Regions from separate parts of the Homo sapiens genome. Here regions 1 and 2 are each linked to region 3. Evidence: promoter capture Hi-C in 16 types of primary human blood cells and fetal thymus (Javierre and others, 2016). All regions are on one chromosome and are shown on one strand. Each heading gives the region's core, a stretch centred on a gene start or on the middle of the fragment in contact. The rest is flanking DNA. Distances are from core to core; before and after follow the strand shown. Region 1 holds the start of CLGN (calmegin). Region 2 holds the start of UCP1 (uncoupling protein 1). Region 3 holds the start of MGAT4D (MGAT4 family member D).

The links. The method cuts DNA at HindIII sites, captures the fragments that hold promoters and counts their contacts. A CHiCAGO score of 5 or more calls a contact.
Region 1: a contact is called between the fragment with the promoter of CLGN here and the fragment with the promoter of MGAT4D in region 3, in 17 of 17 cell types (total CD4 T cells, monocytes, neutrophils and 14 more). The highest score is 10.9, in total CD4 T cells.
Region 2: a contact is called between the fragment with the promoter of UCP1 here and the fragment with the promoter of MGAT4D in region 3, in 17 of 17 cell types (erythroblasts, neutrophils, activated CD4 T cells and 14 more). The highest score is 12.8, in erythroblasts.

Annotation. Positions count from the first base shown.
Region 1 is chr4:140,426,139-140,429,090 of GRCh38, reverse strand. CLGN (calmegin) reads left to right here and starts at 1,443. Exons shown (of 15, transcript NM_004362.3): 1 at 1,443-1,554. RefSeq lists an enhancer at 2,237-2,286. The HindIII fragment of the contact is 13,619 bases long and covers 1-2,952 here.
Region 2 is chr4:140,567,327-140,570,217 of GRCh38, reverse strand. It overlaps UCP1 (uncoupling protein 1), which reads left to right and starts at 1,257. Exons shown (of 6, transcript NM_021833.5): 1 at 1,257-1,614; 2 at 2,241-2,439. The coding sequence starts at 1,489. The HindIII fragment of the contact is 4,953 bases long and covers 1-2,855 here.
Region 3 is chr4:140,496,793-140,499,839 of GRCh38, reverse strand. It overlaps MGAT4D (MGAT4 family member D), which reads left to right and starts at 1,547. Exons shown (of 11, transcript NM_001277353.2): 1 at 1,547-1,711. The coding sequence starts at 1,618. RefSeq lists enhancers at 1,026-1,525, 1,526-2,027. The HindIII fragment of the contact is 3,126 bases long and covers 1,313-3,047 here.

The DNA of each region.
Region 1 (2,952 bases), core at 194-2,693, 71 kb after region 3:
AAGTAGTGAGAATCTAAACTAGAGAAATGGCACAGGGACTGGAGGGGGTGAGGACCTCTTTTAGATGATTTTATGGAGTTAGAGTTTAATTTATGGAGGCAGTGAATGTAGCAGCCAAAGAGTAAAAAAATGTTCTCAAGGTTTTGAGTACTATGTGACCAAGAAGATACTACTAAATCTTGCAAAAATTCACTATTCTTACATTTTTAGTTTTCAGCTTCCTCACTGCAAACTTTGAATGGATCCTTTAAAAAATCCCTCTCTAGCAGTTCAAGTGTATTTGTTATGGGCCACAGAAGTATGTTGAATAATAGAAGTCAGAAGGACGGAAGAAAGAAATAAAGGGTATAATATTGTTACAAAGTATCTCAAACAAAATGTCTTTTTAACCAGTAAATTTTAACACTATCCAAACACTCTCCCAGAGATGACAAAGTCAAAAGTTTAGAAATGCTGGTCTTAATTAGTGAAGCAATGTGAAAAAACTCAGTGATCTTGACCCCTAGCCAATAATGATACGTTGTGCACGGAATGCCACCAAACCCTTAAGATTGAAACTCTTCAACAAGGGTCTTAGACTCACAAGTCAATTAAATGTTGTTAATTAATCTTCCAATAAAATTAAATTGTTATACCAAATTCAAAGTCAAGATTTACTATAAAATATTAAGTAGTAAAATTAATATTGATCCAATATATAAAAGGCAAAGCAGCTTGTGATTGCATAATCATAGCATAAACTACGTTTATGCTAAGATTTATTTCAATGTGTTTGAAACTACAGGCTCTGAGAGAGACAGGCCTGATTTACATCCCGTTTCCACTGTTTACATGTTGTGTAACTTCGAGCAAGTTGCCATCAGTTTCATCACCTGGGTTGCCACGAAGGTTAAACAATGAATGTAAGCCCCTTAGAGCACAATGAACACAATAAATGTTAGCAGCTCTTATTAATAGTGTTGTTCGAGAGAAAAAGAACATATTGTTTTATATACAATGTATTTATTAACACTTAACGCATCTGTATTTGTCATATACACACACCAGACAGGAAAGCTCCTTATTAATCACCATGACTGCAGATCTGTTAACATCTAGAACTCTGGAGAAAACCTAGAGCCCTAATCTTGCTGCACTTATTACTGGACGTTGTTCATAAATATGATTTACATAAAATTCAGGACCCAATCATTGCGCAACAGGAGGTAGCACGGTCTGCAGAGAGGGCGGGAGCTCAGAGGAGGAAAAGTCTTCGGACTTGCAGGGGGAATTCCTCCTGGGCTAACCCGGGAGCGGGGTCCAGGCCACAACCGGCCGGCGGCGGCACAGGCTCCATGTGCGGCTCCCCCTGGAGGCGGTTGAGCCCCTCGGAGCAGGAGCGCGTAGCACACACCTCGGGCCGCCACCGCCTCCCGCCCGCCACCGCACGCGCACGCGCGGTTAGTAGTCGCTGCTGCGCGGCCGCCGGCGGGACTGGTCTGAAGAGACGCGGGGACCAAGTGGCAACGACTTGGACATCTGAGCTGTCACTGCCGAAAACAGGCCGCAAGAGAGGTGCGTGAGCAGCAGGCCGCGTTCCCGCTGTCCCGCTGCCCTTTGCGCGCAGATTGGGGTGAGGAAGCGGAGTCGTTGCTGCTTCCCCCAGGCACCCCGTTACTTTGCCGCCAGAGGGCTGAACCGGTCGGGGCCAAGTGAGGGTGGATGTTGAGTCTGGCGATGGGGCTGCAGCGAGCTAGGGTCTTGACTGGGCTCTGGCGGCCCCGTGGGTGGACGCAGGAGGTGGTGCCACCTGGGACCCTTTGTGTCTTCAGCACCGCCGCATCCACCTGCTGCGCCCGGGCTGGGGCGGACGAGCACGGGGACAGCTAGGTGCCTAGCCCGGCCGGCCTCCCCTGCGGGCTTGAGGAGCCACCGGGAGCCGAGGCCGTTATTCCAGCGGTTGCCATTGCAGCCCCGTTCCACGCTTGAGCCCGGGGCGCTCTCCCAATGGTTGTAGAGGGGGCCCGGGGCGCGTCTGGGCGCTGCTCACTCTGCTGACTGCTCCTTACAGAAACCCAAACGAGATCAAAATAGGCTCGGCTGTCTCAGTCTCCACCTATGTGGAAGCGAAGGGACCCCACTTCACGGCGGTGGGGCCAGGGACTGTTGGCCGCTCCCTCGATACCCGCGCAGAGCCCATTGTGCGCCGCCGGGGGGCGGGCGAAAGGGCTGGGTTGAATCCAGAGAGGCCCTAATTACTAGACTCATTATCGCCCCAGGCCTGTTTACCATCAATCAGACACTTTCGCTGATTTTATTTATAGCATCTGCCCAAGCAACAAAGAGGAGGTGTTTGCTTGGGAGTTAAAAGCAAATGGCAACCAAAGCTCAGGACTGGGAGAGAAAAGGTAAATAACGTGGCCACAGGAAGAAGTCTCAAATTAGAAAAGAGTTCATTAACGTATAAACTTTTTGTTGCTTAAAAGCAGGCAAAATCCCGATCTCATCTGATGATTTTGCTTGTTTTACAAATGTCGACATCACTCGAGGTAGCCCTCCTTTGGGTCATTGTAAGTTTGACCTGTTTTCAGTTTGGAGTTTTGCCTTCACGTCTTATTGGTTTGATCTTCCAGTAACATTTAGATCTCATCTCCAAATCCTCAGAACAAGATATTCTGTACTCTCTGTCTTAGCTAGTTGATAAGGTTAATTATTGTGTGTAAATGATGTAAGTATGTTGATGCATTTGTCTAGAAATTGAAGTGTTGTAAGTTAGCTGTAGTACTTTTTAAGTACCTAATAAATACTGGTGTTTTTAAATAGAAAACTAGAATTATGAACTTTAAAGAATCTTTGGATTGTCTAGTTCACGTCACAAATGAGAAAACAGGCCCACAGCAGTTTTTATCACTTGTCTTTTTAATAATAAAACTAGAAACTTGGTGCGATTGTGCCATGTTGGGTGTACTTTTT
Region 2 (2,891 bases), core at 8-2,507, 71 kb before region 3:
TTGCACAGTACACAACCTTTACTTATAGAGGGTTTGGAGATTATTCTTTATTCATGTCTTATTTCTCCTGCTCCTGGAGGAGATGACTCTGACTTCCACTGACTCTTTTGGGGGGCTTAAGTCAGGGTTGAGTACCAGAGGCCCTAAATAGCTGGACGTGGATTCTGGTAATATCAAATCCATCTTTGGCTTAACTGAGAGGTTCTGAAAGCTGGGACCTGACCTTGTCCATTTCCCTCTTTCTCCAGTTTCCTATTATTTCCCACTGTTTTTTTTAAAAGTTTTTTGTTTTCTTAAGTTTTCACAAGAATAAACATTGAAAATAAAATTTGCACAAAGATCGAACTAGGAAAGGCCACACAACCAACACATATTACATCATTATAGGTAAGTTAGCAGGGAGATTTCAGACCTGGGCTAGCTCTGGAACCACATTTTACACTGTTGAAAATAAAAGCTGGAGTACAGATGACTTTCCCAGGTTCACAGAGTTGGTAAGCTGGAGAGCTGCACCTGGAGCCAAGCAACCTGCCCTGTCCTTTCCACTGCACCCTCTAAGAAATCTAATTAGAAGGAACAGGTGGTATCTCATTTTGTACGGTGCTTTAGCAATGTACTATTTGCTTTCTAGTGTGTCTATTGTCTCGTTTGACATCTTCTCTCAAAAAGTGATGAAACGAAACGCTCTTTTTGACAAGTTCAGAGTGCTCTTGGTTCCTGTGTGGGATTCTTCCAAGTCTGAATTTGGTAGTGGGAAGAGAAGGAATCCGGAGGAAGGAGGATGAGAAGTTTAAAGGAGAGGAAAGGGAAGCAGAGAAGGCCGCAAGGTGCCTGCAAGATGTCTGGGGAGTTGGAGGAATGGAAGAGTGCCCCGCTCTTCCTTCTGGGAGAGCTCCAGCTAGGCAGAACCTTTCACCAAGGCTCTGATATCGTGCTGGTTTCCGAAAGCCCCAGCCGAAGGTGTGCAGCCAAAGGGTGACAGAAGGTGAGGCACGTGCGGGGGCGCGGGTGCTGACCGCCGCGGTGCGCCCTCCCTCCGACGTGCGGTGTGCGGGGCGCAGACAACCAGCGGCCGGCCCAGGGCTTTCGGGGAGCGAAGCAGGGCTCCCGAGGCACCGAGCGAGAATGGGAATGGGAGGGACCCGGTGCTCCCGGACACGCCCCCGGCAGGTCCCACGCCCGGGTCTTCTGAGACCTCGCGCGGCCCAGCCCGGGAGCGGCCCAGCTATATAAGTCCCAGCGGAAGACCGGAACGCAGAGGGTCCTGCTGGCGCGAGGGTGGGTAGGAGGGGACGCGGGGACTCGGCCCCCAACACCGCGCTCCGTCTGCAGCCGCCGCCTCTGCACCGCCGCTGCCCGGCGGTCGGTTCAAAAAACAGAAATCGGGTTTGCTGCCCGGCGGACAGGCGTGAAGAGCAAGGGAAAGGAACTTCCTCCACCTTCGGGGCTGGAGCCCTTTTCCTCTGCATCTCCAGTCTCTGAGTGAAGATGGGGGGCCTGACAGCCTCGGACGTACACCCGACCCTGGGGGTCCAGCTCTTCTCAGCTGGAATAGCGGCGTGCTTGGCGGACGTGATCACCTTCCCGCTGGACACGGCCAAAGTCCGGCTCCAGGTAGCTAGGCAGAGGGGTAAGACAAGGGGTCTCAGGACAGAGGGGACGCTGTTGCGTGCATTCCATTTATTCTCTGCTTTGGTGTAACCACTGTTTCTAGGTAGGGTAGGTGACCTTCCAAAGCAGTCTGGCCTTGTCCCAGGGCTGGTGCTTTAGGATGGGAAACTGGAACTTTTTCTGGGATTAGCTGAAGAACCACCAGGGCCACAGAGAATGGGTTGACCATGACTACTACCAAATTCTCCCAAAATTTAGGGTGCACTTAGTATTTTAAGAGCTGAGAATATTGGCCTCTCCTGAGTTTACTAGTCAGGTGCTTTTTCCTTTCTTTGATTCTTCGGGGGTTCTGTCCTATCCTACTGCCCTAGGGGTTCTGGAGAGTTCCTGGGGAGGGGGATATTCAAAATGTGCATTGTAGCCAGCCTCCCTCCATCTGCGCGTGAGCGAACACACACACACACACACACACACACACACACACACACACACACACACGGTAGAGGGAGGTGGATGGAAGAGGAATGTTGCTGAGAAAAGAAACGGAAAATAGGAACACAGGGGGAAATCTTGGCTTAAGAGTGAACTCAATTTCGCTCCCTTCTGTTCTGCACCTTTCTTATTTCCAGGTCCAAGGTGAATGCCCGACGTCCAGTGTTATTAGGTATAAAGGTGTCCTGGGAACAATCACCGCTGTGGTAAAAACAGAAGGGCGGATGAAACTCTACAGCGGGCTGCCTGCGGGGCTTCAGCGGCAAATCAGCTCCGCCTCTCTCAGGATCGGCCTCTACGACACGGTCCAGGAGTTCCTCACCGCAGGGAAAGAAAGTAAGCCGTGAGCGTTCCTGGGAGGGGCAGAAAAGCCTTGGGCTCCGCTCTGTTCCAAAAAGTGTAACACACAGAGGAGTGGTTTTCATAACAAATTGGCGAGAAAACATTCATATTTGAACTCTCCCTTCCCCAAACATTAGCTCATTGTTCATAGAAAAAAGTATGCAAAATCGATTTTTTAGATGCAGATATATACTTGTAAAGGTCACCCAGTCATGGAAGTTTTGTGCCCAGTTTGGATCTCCATCTGGAGAATATGGGTGGGCTACAGAAAAATGTTTAACTTAAAGTTCTCCAAAGAGGGAAGTATATCAGAAACATCTATGGAGCTTGTCAGAAATCCAAACGAGGACTACCATGGTCCTCTGAGTCTGAATCCTCAGGCTAGAGACCAGAGTGTCTTTCCACAAGCTTCCCTCATCATTTGTGTATGCAACAAAGTTCAAAGC
Region 3 (3,047 bases), core at 298-2,797:
TGGCCCAAGACAATTTTCCTTCCAATGTGGCCCAGGGAAGCCAAAAGATTGGACATCCCTGCCCTACATACTAAATAAATTCAGAGAAGGGGAAATCAGAGTGGTCTGCTGTAGCCAGGTTTTGATTCATGAAACAGATGAAACATGAGACCTGACGATGTGGAAAAAATTTCAATGGTCAGAGAGGACACTGGACATTGTGGGCAGGGGGCAGACATAAAGAGAAAAGGCACAGAAGGAGAGAAGTGAACATGACATGTTCAGAGTAGGATTGAAAAAAGAGTCTGGCAGGTGCCAGAGGCATGTAAGGGCGCCCTGGGAGATGAGAAAGCAGTGAGTGGCCTTCGATTGAGTGGGTCCATTTTCATTCAGGAGTGGAGCTACGTAAACAACAGTGACAGCTGACTGTGGTGAACTAGGAAGAGTATCTGGTATTGAAGTGTGGATTGCAGAGGGTAGATCCTGCAGACAGTGAGACCAGTTTGAATGTCACTGTGATCATCTGAGTATTGGGGATAGTAGCTAGCAACAGAAACACAATCCTTTAGGTAACTAAAGATTTTATAAATAATGAGATATAATGAACCAGAGTCCAAATGATTGTAAGAAGAACTATGATGCCACTGATAAAATCAAGGGACTCTGGGAAAACAGCTATTAATAGCTTGGTGAGGAAGTTTGGACATCTTGAATCTGATGTGGGACATTCAAGCTGAAGGGCTGGGTAGGCAACTGAAAATGCAAAAACTGGACCTCAAGTAAGAAGGCAGTGAAATGCTGAGTATGGAGATCTCTCTTTATGCTGAATAGCTTCCTTCTCCCACCCTAATCTTCCCTACGTTTTCTCCAACCTGCTCCACAGCCTAGAAGCCAGGTTTGGACCATCCAGTACATCAAGCTGAACTTTCTTGTCTTCTGGTTTTCAGTAGAGCTCAGCCAAAGGCAAGCACCGGCAACAGACTGAAGGGGTGAAGGAGAACATAGTTGAGGTGTCTCTCCTGGCTCCTTGTTTTGAGATCTGGCTGGGTCCCGGCTCAATGGAAAGTCACAGCTCCTAGCCATTAGCACATGAGAACACGCAGGCTATAGTGGCATCCTCAGGCTGGGGTATGTTCAAATCTTTCTTCCCCTTCAAGGGGACAGAAGCCAGCCCTTCCAACGTGCAGGGCTGATTTGAAGTAGAATGTTCAGATATTATAACAGACTGCCAGTGAGTCCTCAATGAGAGGAGAGCTTAGAGGGGAGAGATCAAGGAGTCCATAGAGAGTCTCATCCTACTGATGCTCTAGTGTTTCTCAGCTTGGGTAAAGCTTTGATAAGCCACTCGAGGAAAGTCACCTAACAGTTATTGCGCACCCACCACGTGCCAGGCAATGGGGCGCTTTCCCTAGTTTATCGTTTTTAACGACCAGTAGCCCTGGCCAGCGGTTTATAGCACGCGCTGAACCCTAGAGCAGGAAGCAAAAGGTGCAGAAGTTCTGTGGCAAGGCGGCTTCCCAGGGCGGGTGTGCTGGGGACCCACGCGGCACCGCGGGGAGGGGGCTCTGCGCGCTCAACCCCGTCCCTGGCATTATCCGCCGCCTCCACCCGCCGGCCTCCCGCAGCCTGGCCAGGGCCATGAGGACCAAGCAGGTGAACTTGCTGATCACCCTGGTCGCCGTCGCGTTGTTCAGCTTCTCTTGCTTCTCCATCTACAGGATAACTCAAACCAGTAAGCGGCGGGCCCTCCTCCCGCCTCCTTTCCCGCCGCGGGGGCTTCGGGGCTGCAGGAATGCAGGCGGGGCAGGGTCGGCGGGTGCGGAGGCGATGCGGGAAGCTGGCGGCGGCCGCCCGCGCTGGCACTGGGAGGCCCGCGTCGGTGCCTTCCCGAGGCCGCGCCTACCCCGGTCAGCGGCGGCTGGGCTGTAACCCGCGCCCCGACCTCCTCCTCCAGGGCCGCGTCCGGCCTGCACGCGCGCTAACGCATCTGGCCCAGGGTACCCGCCGCTCCCTTTTCCTCAAAGGTTCAAGGACCCCGTCTGTGCACTGCTTTTCCCCTCTCCTGTTCTTCCTTCTCGAAACTATGGCTGTCTGACCCCAAGAACTGCTCTTACACAGCCAGCATCTGTCCGCATCTTTCCTCCTTCGTGGTCTGGGTTACATCACCAGGCCCCGCTTCATGCCTCCCTCCTCCCTGGAGTGTTTTTTGCGTACCTGAAAAGAGGTGGTAGAAAGGAGAGGGACGTCCCTGACCACCTACAGCGCCGGCCCAGCGCCTGGACTTCTCCGATGGACCGCAGGCCTGTGTTCCGCTCCCACACACACTCAAGATGCAATTTCTCCTGGCCCATAGAAGTGCCAATTTAGGAAACAAAGGTACAGGTTGCCCAGTTTAATTTCAATTTCAGATAAACAATTATATATTAGTATAAAAAATTGCATGGGACATAATTATTCTAAAATATTTACGTCTTTTTTATTTTAATTTCAAATTTAACCAGGTATCCTATATTTGATCTTTTAACCCTAGTTGTCCGCGGTGTAAAATTTTAGCATTCAAGTAGTTAAATTTTTCAGTTTAAGACTTAGGAACCCTGTAAATTATGAACCCAGCCTTCCACGATTGCTCTTACGTTGTTTTCAGTTAAATTTTCGTTTATTTACACATGTATGACTTAAGTGCACACAAGGTAATCTTGGTAGGAGTGCTGAGGTTGAAGTTTGGGAGTGGCTTCATGTTTTAGCCCTCCAGTTAATACTAGATTTTATCATCATATACACAAAATATTCTATATCCTGCTTGTTTCAAAGATTAGGAATGCATATTAATTTATCTGCATTATAATATTTCTACTAATCTTTATAGTCATTTGACATAGTTTCCCTCCTCTTCATTTTCTATAAAGAACATCATCCAAATGTCTATTTTAGCACAATGAACAATAAGCACACTTATAACAAAAAATAAATGATTTCTTTTAATTAGAAAGCAAAATGTAAAGTTTTATAGTAATTTTTTTTTTAAGACAGAGTTTTCACTCTTGTTGCCCAGGCTGGAGTGTAGTGGC